2 separate regions of the Homo sapiens genome follow, and region 1 is linked to region 2. The links are contacts of gene promoters, found by promoter capture Hi-C in human tissues and cell types (Jung and others, 2019). All regions are on one chromosome and are shown on one strand. Each heading gives the region's core, a stretch centred on a gene start or on the middle of the fragment in contact. The rest is flanking DNA. Distances are from core to core; before and after follow the strand shown. Region 1 holds the start of OR5T1 (olfactory receptor family 5 subfamily T member 1). Region 2 holds the start of OR8K3 (olfactory receptor family 8 subfamily K member 3 (gene/pseudogene)).

Region 1 (6,941 bases), core at 4,302-6,801, 47 kb after region 2:
CTTACCTTTGGAAATGAACTGCTCACTCAATTCAGGTATGCTATGAATATTGTGCATTTGAATTCTTATACCAGGCCCTTGAGCTCTAGAATTCCACAGGGATGCCCAAAGAAGAAAACACACTAATTCTCTTCTGGGATAAAACAAATTATGATTTTTTTTTTTTTCTGTAGTGAACAAGTAACTGATCTGGAACATGCATTACATGATTCCAATGATCACATAAGTGTACTTTCTACCTAGGTCCAAAATAATCCCCCAGTGGAAAAAAATATGCATATTACTGAAAAAGAAAGCTAATAATACAGGCCATAGTGCTAGCTCTGATTCTAATTATCTACATGCTATCAAATTAATAACTTAAATTCTCTAAAATTCAGTTTCTTCTTGAAATTATAACCTATGAATTATCTGGAAGTCCTATTGTCACATACATAATGAAATAATATGAAAACATAACCTATGACAAGACATATAATCATTTAATAAAGGTTACTATATTTATTTAAATTTGACAGTCCTCTAATTCTAAATGGTATGAGAGAGATTTAACTTCATTGAAAATTTAATAGGCCAGGTGCGGTGGCTCATGCCTGTAATCCCAGCACTTTGGGAGGCCGAGACAGGCAGATCACCTGAGGTCAGGAGTTCGAGAACAGCCTGGCCAACATGGAAAAACCCCATCTCTACTAAAAATACAAAAAATTAGCCGGGCTTGGTGGTGGACGCCTGTAATCCCAGCTACTGGGGAGGCTGAGGCATGAGAATTGCTTGAACCCAGGTGGTAGAGGTTGGCAGTGAGCCGAGACCATGCCACTGCACACTCTAGCCTGGGTGAAAGAGTGAGATTCCATCTCAAAAAAAAAAATTAATAGAGGAGATATTAATGCACATAATTATAAGGTAAATCTATGAATAGAGAATATTAACAGAAGAGTTAGGGCAATATGCAGATGTTCTATGTAATAATTTTCTGTGAACTAGAACATTAGACTCAGATATATGGCAGAGTTAAAGGTCAATTTTTTAAGTTCTGCGAGATCTTTTCTATCTTCAAGAATTGATATACTAATCTATATACTTGTTCTTTGATATGCACATAAGAAATTATCCAAAATGTGATGAAAAATACATGGATGATCAAAAGAATGAAATGACAACAGACTAGGAGAAAATACTTGCAAGGACACATCTGATAAAAGACTGTTATCTAAAATTTACAAAGAACTGTTTAAAACTCAATAGGAACACAAACAACCTGATTTAAAAATGAGTCAAAGACCTTAAAAACCACCTAAAATGGTCAAAAAGGCCGGGTGCAGTGGCTCGCCTGTAGTTCCAGCTTCCAGCCTGAAAGGCAGAGGTTGTAGTGAGCTGAGATTGTGCCTCCGCACGCCAGCGTGGGCGACAGAGCAAGATTCCGTCTCAAAAAAAAAAAAAAATGATTTTAAAAATGAGTCAAAGATACCCCATAAAAGATATACATATGGCATGTAACCATATGAAATTGATGCTCCACATCATAGGTCATCAAGGAAATGCAAAAAAAACAATGATATATCTCTTCATAACTAGAGTGACCAAAATCCCAGAACACAGAAAACAGCAAAAGCTGGCGGTGATGTGCAGCAACAGGAAAACAGGAATTCTCATTCATTACTGGTGGGAATGCAAAATGGTCCAACTACTTTGCAAGACAGTTTGGAAGCTTCTTACAAAGCTAAATTTACTTATAATCCAGTAATCATGCTCCTTGGTGCTTACCCAAAGGAAACAATATCCACACAAAGTTTTGCACATGGATGTTTACAGAAGCTTTATTTATAATTGCCAAAACTTACAAGCAACTAAAATGCTCTTCAGTAAATAAATGTATTAATAAACTGTGGTTTATCCAGATAATGAAATATTATTCAGCTCTAAAAAGAAATGAACTATCAAGTCATAAAAAGACATGGATGAAATTCAAAGGCACATTACTCAGAAAAATAAACACATTTCCAACACCTAGTGAATGAATAAAACAATTGTAGTACATCCATAATATGGAATACTACTCAGTGATAAGTAGGTATAAAATATAATTATCTAGTACAGGAATGAATCTCAAATACTTCTTGCTAAGTTGAAAAAGCCAAACTCAAAAAGTTACATACATTGTGATTCCATTGATATAATATCCTGGACCAGGCAAAATCACAACAGAAAGCACATCTGTGGTTGCCAGAACTTGGGAGTAAAGGAAAGTAATTGGCTACAAAGTGATGAGAGGACTTTATAGGGTAATGAAAATATACTATAACTTGATTTGCTTACCTACTTGTGTTTATCAAAATTCATATAACTGACACTTATAAATGGTAAATTTTTCTGTTTATATTAAAACTTTAGAAAACTAGCTATTACATAAATTTATCATTGCTTCAGAATAGATAATGACTAGAGGACAGAATAAGGTAGCTGAGGCTGCTGACAATGGTAACGGGCTGCTGGCAACCTTCTAAAACATTATTTTGTTATTTTCATCCTTGTATACTTTAACTCTCATCATATGGAGTTCAATTGCCATCTTCTTGCTCCATCCATGTTTAAATGTGCTGGGCATCTTGACTCTCAGAAGAAGGTACATAGGAAGTTGGTGATATATCAAAGTAACTTTTCCAGGTTCATGCTGAAGGAATCACTCTCTAGCTTTCATTGTGGCCTTAAAATATTACTGTAAAGCTACTTTAGCTCTCAGACCTAAGCCTAATTTATGAGCAAATTCTCCCTGCTCTTCCTTGAGTCCTATAGACAGTCAGTTCTTGCCTTTCAAAGTGGTTCTCCACACCTTAGACATTTTATGTTGCCCTAAGTGTTCTGAGAACTACATCTCCCAGAATTCTCCTTTCTTAGTGAAGCTTTTCTTCCCAATGATTCTACTTGACTCAGTTAGCTTTTTTTTTTTTCAGCGTTTTGTTTTCCTTAGGGAAACAAGGACAAGTCTTTACTTGTCCTACTGAAAGGGTGTATATGCTGCACATTTGTGACATCCTTAATTACCTTGAGCACAGTTTCAATCATTCACGATCCTTTGGCGACACCTGTATTGAGACTGCACAGGGGTTGGGGTGGTAATTCACCTGAAACTTGGAACATATAAAAGCTTATCTACTCTTCCAGCTTGACTTTGCTGGAATTTTCACTCAATAAATTGTCTTTTCTTTTTACTGGTGGAGTTTGAAAATTCACGAATTCCATGTGTTATAGGTACTGTTAATCCTTCCTTTTCCCAGTTAATTCTGTGTCTGGTAAAAAAAAAAAAAAAAGTTGCTGATTTAACAAGATTCTGTTGCAACAGGGTGCTTTGACTCAATATTCTTTTTATTTTCAGGTTTTGTGGTGGTAGTCTTTGATATAATTTTGAAAAAACAAATAAAAATTATCCATTTATGTATTTTTCACTTTCACTCATTTCATGTTTGCTTGTTTATTGATTTTTTAAATATGTTGATGGAGATTCTGAGTTTATTAGTGAAAGTTTATGCCTGCCTTGCATCAGCTTCTTTCTCTCCTTCCTTTTTTCTCTTTCTACCTTTTCCTTCCTTCCTTCCTTCCTTCCTTCTTTCCTCTCTTTCTCTTTTTTTCCCTTTCTCTCTCTCTTTCTTTCTTTCTTTCTGAATGCATTGAGTAGAGGTGCAATTTTGTTGTATGGATATATTGAATATATTGAATATCTTGACTTTTAGTGTATCCATCTCCTGAATAATGTGCATTGTACCCATTAAGTAATTTCTTATACTCCACATACCTCTGACTCTCTCACCCTTCCAACTTTCCACTGTAATTCATTCCACACTCTATGTCATATGTATACATTATTTAGCTCCTGCTTATAAGTGAGAACATATCATATTTGACTTTCTTTTTTAAAATTGTTTCATTTAAGATAATGGCCTCCAGTTTCATCCATGTTGCTGCAAAAGACATGCTTTCATTCTTTTGTTGGTGAATAGTATTCAACTGCTTATATATAACATATTTTCTGCATCTAGTCATCCATGGTTGAACACTTAGAGTGATTCTGTATTTTTCTTACTGTGAATAGTGTGGTGATAAACATAAAAGTGCAAGTATCATAGAACCACCATTTGATCCAGCAATTCAACTACTGGGTATCTACCCAAAGTAAGATACTGATTTATCTTTTGGCAGATACCCAGTAGTGGGATTGCTAGATCAAATAGTCGTTCCATTTTCAGTTATTTGAGAAATCTCCATACTGTCTTCCATATAGGTAGTACTAGCTTACATTCCCAACAGCAGTGCATAAGCATCCCCTTTTCTTTGCCAACATCTGTTTTTTTTTTTTTTTTGACATTTTAAGATTGGTCATTCTAACTGGTGTGAGACGATATCTAATTAAGGTTTTAATTTTCATTTCTCTAATAAGTGATGTTGAGCATTTTTTCATATGCTTATTGGCCATGTTCATTGCATGTCTTCATTTGTAAAATGTTTATTGATATCTTTTGGTCACTTTTAAATAAGGTTATTTTTCTTCGTTGAATTGCTTGAATTCTTTCTAAATTGTAGATATTAGTCTCCCATCAGATGCATAATTTGCAAATATTTTCTCTCATTATGTGGATTCTCTGTGCCCTGTTGATGATTTATTTTGCTGTATGGGAGCTTTATAGTTTAATTACATCTCATGAGTTTATTTTTGTTTACGTTGACTGTGTTTTGGTGGTATTAGTCATGAAATATTGCATAGACCAATGTCCAGAAGATTTTTTCCTAGTTTTTCTTCTTGTATTTTTCTATTTTCAAGTCATATATTTAAGTCCTCCATCCAACTCGGGTTGATTTTTGTATATGTAAATGGTAATCCAATTTTCCTACACCATTTATTGCAAATAGGATTCTTTGTCCAGTGTGTGTTTTTGTTAAATTTGTTAAAAATCTGTTGGATGTATATATATGGCTTTATTTATGAGTTGTCTATTCTTTTCCATTGATCTGTGTCTGCCTTATATCCTACCATACTGTTCTGATTATTACAGCCTTATAGTGTAACTTAAGGCCTGGTAATGTGAAGCCTTGAGCCTTATTTTTCACTTGGGATTGATTTGGCTATTCACTCTTTTTTTGTTGTTCCATATGCATATTAGGATTATTTGTTCCAATTTTATGAAAAATCACGTTGGTCTTTTGATAGAAATTGCATTAAATCTATAGATTGCTTTAGGTGGTATATTCATTTTAAGATATTAATTCTTTTTTTTAAATTGTCAACTTTAATTTTAAGTTCAGGGGTACATGTTCAGGATGTGCAGGTTTGTTACATAGGTAAACCTGTGTCATGGTGGTTTGCTGCACGGATCATCCCATCACCCAGGTATTAAGCACAGCATCCACTAGGTATTCTTCCTGAACCTCTTTCTCCTTCCACCCTGCCCCTCATGCTCCAACAGGCCTCAGTGTGTGTTACTCTCCCCACCATGTGTCTATGTGTTCTCATTGTTCAGCTCCCACTTCTAAGTGAGAACATGTGTATTTGGACTTTTGTTCCTGCATTAGTTTGCTAAGCACAATGGCCTTCAGCTCCAGCCATGCCCCTGCAAAGAACATGATCTTGTTCTTTTTTATGGTTGCATAGTATTCCACATTTCTTGCGTATATGTACCACATTTTCTTTCTTTCTTTCTTTCTTTCTTTCTTTCTTTCTTTCTTTCTTTCTTTCTTTCTTTTTCTTTCTTTCTTTCTTTCTTTCTTTCTTTCTTTCTTTCTTTCTTTCTTTCTTTTGTTCTTCTTTCTCTCTTTTTATTCAGAGTCTTGCTCTGTCACGTTTGTGTACCATATTTCCTTCCCCTCCTTCCCTCCCTCCCTCCCTCCCTCCCTCTCTCCCTCTCTCTCTCTCTCTCTCCCTTTCTTTCTTTCTTTCTCTCTTTCTTTCTTTCTTTCTTTCTTTTGTTCTTCTTTCTCTCTTTTTATTCAGAGTCTTGCTCTGTCACGTTTGTGTACCATATTTCCTTCCCCTCCTTCCCTCCCTCCCTCCCTCCCTCCCTCTCTCCCTCTCTCTCTCTCTCTCTCCCTTTCTTTCTTTCTCTCTTTCTTTCTTTCTTTCTTTCTTTCTTCTTTCTCTCTCTCTCTCTTTCTTTCTTTCTTTCTTCTCTTTCTTTCTTTCTTTCTTTCTTTCATTCTTTTTCTTTCTTTCTTTCTTTCTTTCTTTCTTTCTTTCTTTCTTTCTTTCTTTCTTTTGTTCTTCTTTCTCTCTTTTTATTCAGAGTCTTGCTCTGTCACGTTTGTGTACCATATTTCCTTCCCCTCCTTCCCTCCCTCCCTCCCTCCCTCCCTCTCTCCCTCTCTCTCTCTCTCTCTCCCTTTCTTTCTTTCTTTCTCTCTTTCTTTCTTTCTTTCTTTCTTTCTTTCTTTCTTTCTTTCTTTCTTCTTTCTCTCTCTCTCTCTCTCTTTCTTTCTTTCTTTCTTTCTTCTCTTTCTTTCTTTCTTTCTTTCTTTCTTTCTTTCTTTCTTTCTTTCTTTCTTTCTTTCTTTCTTTCTTACTTTTTCTTTCTTTCCTTTTTTCAGAGTCTCTCTCTGTCACCCAGGCTGGAGTGCAGTGGTGGGATCTCAGCTCATTGCAACCTCCACTTCCTGGGTTCCAGCTATTCTCCTGTCTCAGCTTCTGAAGTAGCTGGGATTACAGGTGCACGCTGCCATGCCGGCTAGTTTTTTGTATTTTAGTAGAGACGGGGTTTCACCATATTGGCCAGGCTGGTCTCAAACTCCTGAGCTCAGGCAATCCACCCACCTCAGCCTCCCAAACTGTTGGGATTACAGGCATGAGCCACTGCACCTAGCCCCTTTGCCCACTTTTTAATGGAGTTGTTTGTTTTTTTCTTGTGAAATTGCTTAAGTTATTTGTACATTCTGGATATTAGACCATTGTCAGAGAATAG
Region 2 (6,805 bases), core at 1,663-4,162:
AGAGACATTTTATTTATCACAATTTGGAGGTGGGCCACTGTTGCATCTAAAGGTTAGAAGCCAGTAAGCTGCTAAACATTCCACTATAATCAATACTCAGCCCATCGCAATACCCAACCCCAAATATCAATAGTGCTAAGGTTGAGAAACTCTGATGAGATACATGAATAGACAGATGATAGATAGATAGTTAATGGGTAGATAGATAGATTATGGATGAACAGATAGAATCATATGAGAGAGAGAGAAAGAGATACAGATATTCATGTCTGTATAGATATATAAAGAAAAATTTTAAAGTTAAAAACATTGTTAATACCGTGGATATCTGATATATGAACAATTATTGTACTATGTTTTTAGAGCTTGGTCATATTTATAGATTAAAATTGTGACATAATACAATTTTAGTTATATAAAAAATTTCTGTCACAGATTCCAAAAATGCATAAAACCACCTGCTTCAAAACATCATCCTGTGAATACCCTTATCTCTTCGGGTGGTACAGCTGAGACTTTAATAGAGTTGACAGATATTAGGCATATGAGTAAGAGCAGCATAACAGATGACAGTGGCAATTATTTATATTTACAAAGCAAAAAATATCAGGAAATATATGGATATAGATATATTCTACACTATATCTTAATTTATGTCATATTTGAAAGGTTATTTTAGGCAAATAGTGTAAGTTATCTAAAACTGTTTGTTCTAATATCCAGAACCAACATGTCATTGCAGAATTGTTGGGAAGGATGACTGAAGATTAAGTGATTCAATGTGTCTTTGCTGCCTAGAAGTAGTTCTAAAACATCAAGTACATTGTGAGTTTTCTTCTTCTTGTTATTTGTTTTAATTGTGACAATGCCTTACTTGAAAGAGGTTTTTTTTACATGTGTACACATACATTATTCTGACTATGAATTAACTTCTTTGTTAGGACCATAATGATGCCTAGGGGAGTCACAGGTCAAGTAGGATGTAATACTTGCAACTTAGGGCAGTTCTTCTCCCCTCCCCCAATTCATGACTAAACTTGGGTAATTGGTATGCTATTGTTTTGGATTACTTATCTATTTTTCACAACGAATTTAATAACATTTTAAATAAATTATTTTTATATAAACTTTATTAAAACATTAATCTTCCCATAGTTTTATTCTCAATATAATTGAGAAATGCTAACTTGAATGTGAACGTTAAGTTTGTTTTATCATACAAAATCTTAGGGGAGTTTGAGGAAATCTGAACAAATTGGGAGAAAATGTGGTCCTTCATATTGGTTTTGTATAATGAAAATTAGTAAAAGCTACTTTTTGGGTAAAAGGATACTGTAGATTAAAGAAATGATTAAAAGTCACCTTGTTACACAATAACATAGAGACAAAATGAATACACTAAACATGAGATATACGTGGATTTCTGGCTGTGATTTAAAACTTTTCTGAACATGCAAGCCACAGAAACTAGGAAATATGGTATAGCACATAATACAAATTAACATATGTATAATCGAATAAATATATATCTAAATATCCCCCAATAACCCACAGATTTAAAATATAGTAGAGCAGGAGATGGAGGGCATGATAACCTAAGATAATCATTATTAGTTAAAAAAAATCGTAAGCCCCAATGTTTTTTGAAAAAAGAAAAGAAAGAAAATAGTTTTTACAATGAAAATTATAGTGACAGCAATCTCAGAGTGAGCTATGAAAAAATAAAGACAAGCAATTGTGTTACATTAAATATAAAGATGATTACATATTATTTGAACTTAATTTTTTAAATAAAATTATGACCTACTCCTATCCTACCCTGACTCAATGAACACACCTTTCTCATATTAGATATATGGTAATGTGTGGCAGTAGATGGAAAAGTTAGATAAATATCTTTAGTAAATAAGATGATGAGCAGCATAAATCCTGTATTTTGTTTGCTTGTTTTGTACAGTTTGGCAATTTAGAAAGGCAAATAATATCATGGATAAGTACCTGTTTTCTTGTTAGGTAAGGAAATATAAATGAGGTTCCTTTCACCATCTTTGGAGTTCTGTGGAAAGAACCAGATTGCTTTTTTTCATATTTTGCTGTCTTTGTTGAATATCAATTGCATTTTTTAAAGCTACAATCTTTGAGAAAATAATATCTGCTTTTGTCAACTCTTAGTGGAAATTGAAGTACTTTCTGAAAATTGTATTGTTCCCTAAAACTGGGTACTTAACAGTCTCCTAATTTTATTTTCTTCTATTTTAAAATGTTTTTTTTTTCTGTGCCTATGATTACCCAAAAAGCCTCATAATTTTTAATAATGCTTTTCACATTCGAATGTAAGGTAGCAACCCCCTTTTTGACTCACCAAGCAGTGAGAAAACAATCATATCTACACATTTATTTGAATAATCATTCAGTGTTAAATTATTGTTAAGGGGTCTGAGAGCCTAGAGCATCTAAATAACAAGTATTTGGAAGGACATGAACATGACTGACCAAATAGTTGCAGTTTCTCCATTCTTTCATTAAAAATATATTTATCTCCTTGTCATTGTGCTTTATTTTCTCCAAGTTTTGGCCTCAATTAGAGAAAAATATGTAAAATGAATACTTTAGAAACAATATCATGATAATGTTTCAAAGATGCTTATAGCATTCAGCCTGTGAAACCATGTAAAATACTTAAAAAGCATATGAAAAATGGAGCACCGTTATTTCTGCTTAGGCATTATTGAGTAACAGAAATCCCGGAGAAATGAATCAGAAATTGTCACACTTTACTATGGTTATGTCATCAAATTAAAGTGGCAGTTTTCCAATGTCACTGAAGCATTATAGATATCTGTAACATATGACACCACAAGAAACATTCTTACTTTTTTTTTTTTTACCTGTAAGGAAGCCTCTGTCTTGACTCCTCCATGTGTCTCTCACATGGCACAGTGAGAACAATTTATGCATTTTTTAATCTTTTGAGACTCTCCCTGAGGAGATGGCAGGCAATTTATTGATAATTCCTAAAGCATTTGAGAGCATAACAAAATGTTTGAGGCTGTCCATTAGTTGTAGAAGACAGTTTGTATTCACTAGTGTATCAGAGTTCTCCAGAAAAACAGTACTAAGAAGAGATAGTTAGATGAGAGATGATAGATAGATAGATAGATGATAGATAGATAGATAGATAGATAGATAGATAGATAGATAATAGAGATTTATTATGAATTGTTTTATGCAATTATGTAGGCTGAGGATTCCTGTGATTTGCTGTCTGCAAACTTCAAGAAAGCTGGTGGTATAGATTCAGTTCAAACTTGAAATATTGGGAGCCAGGGGAGCCAAGGGTGTACATCATAGTCTGAATTCGAAGGCTCTGGAATCTGGGATGTCAATGTCTGATGGCAGGAAGCGAAGGATGTCCTAGCTTAAGCAGGGAGTGAACTCACCCTTCCTCTGTCTTTTTGTTTTATTCAAGGCCTCAATTGATTGCACTGATACCCACCTATATTGGTGAGGATGATAGTTACTCTGTCTAACAATCGTAGTCTCTTCCAGGAGTATCCTCACAGGCACACCCAGAAATAATGTTTGCCAGCTATCTGGGCATCATATAGCCTAGTTAAGTCAACACTTTAATCGTCATTACTCCACCCCTTGTCAGCTTGGCAAACATAAGCATGTACTTAAACCATACTTAGTCTCTCTAAACATAGACAATAACAAGGTCATAGTTTTGCTTTACATGACACAACTATCCGGCATATAAATAAAAACTCACTAATCCTTTATTCCAATCAGGACATATATTCTTTGAGTGATACTGACTCTTCTCCTGATTTTCTCAGAGTAAAATTCTACAGTGTAAAAGTAACAATATTTAAATATTGATGTAAAGTCCATATATCATATTTATATAATAAGGTAATAAAAAATGGAATAAAGCATCTTAATAAATACACAGACATATTTATAATAAAATTAGGATGGAATTCTCATTACAATTACAGTCCTCATTTCTGAACTGGCCACATGATTATAGCTGGTATTTATAACCGTCTTCTTCTTCTTTCCATACTCTATTCCTTTTGTCTTTAGCAAGCACCTTAGTTGGCCATGGTTCTTTTTTCCTTGTGAAGTGGCCCAAACCTTTATTCCTGAAGAATGTGGGCCATTAGTAGTTCTGGCTAGTTTGGGCTATTACAGTTTTCCGTATATTATTATTACAGTTTTTCTTATTAATAAAAGATGTCCTAAGGAATGTCCCATATTCCAGGCTTATTCTTCCTTGTATTGTGAAGTAATAGCCCAATTTCCCCTGGAAAGTCAGGATCAAGTGTGATAACTTCCTGTTTTGTCTATTGATTCAGTTGCATGAGGAGCTCAAAATGGCTGGGTAAGAGTCTTAACTTCCAATTCAATAGAATTATTGCTATTTCTCTAGGTGGAAGCATTCATTCCTCTGTGACTAAGACCTGTAGGTCAGTAAAGCTTAAAGTCAATGGAGCAGGAAGCAGAAATTTTGACAGTGGGTCACTAGGGTTAATAGTGAGTGGTGTCTTGAATGTTAAATGACGAGTTAATGGGTGCAACACACCAACATGGCACATGTATACATATGTAACTAACCTGCACATTGCGCACATGTACCCTAAAACTTAAAGGATAATAAAAAAATTAAAAAATTAAAAAAAATAGTGAGTGGTGTCACTCATACTTCCATCTCTTCATTCCTAGGCTACTAGATCCAGTCTATGGCAAAAAAACAGCACAATATACTGGAGACTAATTCAAAGCATATATAGCTTTCTTGCAAACTTTTCCCCAGCTATTCAAATTATTGCCATCTAGCTGAATTGTAATTAAAATTTCAAAGCCAGTTTCTTTGGGATGTTGGGCAGCATGGTGAGTATGACTAGTGAATTCCATGATCATGGACACATTGCTGCACTTCTTTATCTGTGAAGTGAGTTTCTTGATATATGTAATGCCATGTGGAATATCATGATGGTACATAAGGCATTCTATAACTTGGAAGGTAGTTTTGGCAGAATTGCTTGCAGAGAAGGAAAATCTGTATCCAGAGTAAGTATATATTGCACTAAGAACAAAATGCTGCTCTTAAATGTTGGAAACAGTGCAATGTAACCAAACTCCTGCCAGGCAGCTGGCTACTCCCATTGGGTAATGGTGCCATATTAGTGGCTCTGTGTTGTTCACTGCTGCTGGAAGATTGGACACTCAGCAGTGACTATGGCCAGGTTGGCCCTCATGAGTGGAAGTCCATGTTGCTGTGAGACCACACATAACCTATGTCCCTGCCACCATGTCCACTTTCTTTGTGAGCCCATTGGGTGATGACAGGGTGCCTGAAGAAAGAGGCTGGCTAGTATCCACAGAATGTGTCATACTATTAACTTGAATATTACAATCCTCCTCTGCTGAGGTCACCATTTGGTGAGCATTCACATGGGACACAAATATCTTCACGTTTTTTGCTCATTCAGAGAGTTATGGTCATACTTCTTCCCTAAATTTCTTTGTCATTAATTTTTCAATCATGTCCTCTCCACGTTTTTTACTATCTAGCCACACCACTTGCCACAGCCCCTGAATCCATATGTAATCATAATTATCGCATGTCTGTTCTCTCATGATCACTTTCTAAGCAAAGTGCATCACCAGGTGCACCACTCAAAGTTGTGCACAGTGAGAGTATTTCCCTTTACTTCTGTCCATCAGGAATGTCCCAGAAAAGGCTTGTAGTGCTACAGTTGCCCACTTTTAGGGTGGTGTCTGCATATGATGCAGAACTATCTTTAAATGGGACTGGAGTCTTTTCTTCCTCTGTCATCTGACCATAAGGCACTCTCTATGAGGCCATGGGTGGAGACTGCGAGACAGAAGATAGTGTAGGAGGAGCGGGGACCATGTGCATCAGGCTATTTCTTCATGTAACTTACTTGTGCCTCAGGGCCTGTTCAGTCTTGAACACCATATACAGCAGTCACTTGGATACCTATTTTTTGCTTTTTGTGGTTTCAGTTACCTGCATTCAACTGTGTTCCAAAAATGTTAAAGAGAATTTCCAGAAAACAACTCATAAGTTGTAAATTACATATCATTCAAAATAGCACAATAAATTCTCACACTTTTTCACTCTATCTTACCTAGGGCGTGAATCATTTTTTGTCCAGTTATCCACAGTGTATATTTTCCTTGTCTGTTCCACTTAGTAGCCATCTTGGTTATCAGATGACTGTCACAGTATTGCAGTAACTGTGTTACATAACCGTTATTTTACTTAATGATGTCCCATACTGCAAGAGTTATGATGCTGGCAATTCAGATATGTCAAAGAGAAGGCATAAAGTGCTTCCTTTCTTTCAGTGTAAAGATGAAAGAAAAAAAAAATCCTATGCTAAGGTTGCTAAGAGCTGCAGTGAGAACAAATCTATTTGTAAAATTATGAAGAAGGGAAAATGGACTGTGTATGTCCAACTTTATGGCTGAGTGAGTCAGAAATCGTGCAGTTTATGATGTGTCAAGATAGTCAAGACTTCAGTTTCTAAGGCCTAATAGCAGGCCAAGAAGTGTTTTTTTAAATTTACTTGTTTGTTACCTATTTTTTACACTTGCTTAAATTTGCATTTGTACCACAGAGGACTCTTGATTAAAATATTGTATCTATAGTGCAGGCTCACAGAAAAAATATTGTATATACACGGCAGGTGGTATATACACAGTGGTTTCCTCAAAAAGGTGACAGAGTGGAGATGGTTTTCAACGTTGTCCTATTACTTTACTTAAGAAT

The links. The method cuts DNA at HindIII sites, captures the fragments that hold promoters and counts their contacts. A contact is called where the count stands out against the background at its distance.
Region 1: a contact is called between a fragment that was not itself captured here and the fragment with the promoter of OR8K3 in region 2, in 3 of the 25 tissues and cell types used here (neural progenitor cells, ovary and small bowel).

What each region holds. Positions count from the first base shown.
Region 1 is chr11:56,267,237-56,274,177 of GRCh38, reverse strand. It overlaps OR5T1 (olfactory receptor family 5 subfamily T member 1), which reads right to left and starts at 24. Exons shown (of 3, transcript NM_001004745.2): 1 at 6-24. The HindIII fragment of the contact is 6,385 bases long and covers 2,359-6,941 here.
Region 2 is chr11:56,311,251-56,318,055 of GRCh38, reverse strand. It overlaps OR8K3 (olfactory receptor family 8 subfamily K member 3 (gene/pseudogene)), which reads right to left and starts at 2,912. Exons shown (of 3, transcript NM_001005202.2): 1 at 2,889-2,912; 2 at 1,999-2,056. The HindIII fragment of the contact is 20,178 bases long and covers 1-6,805 here.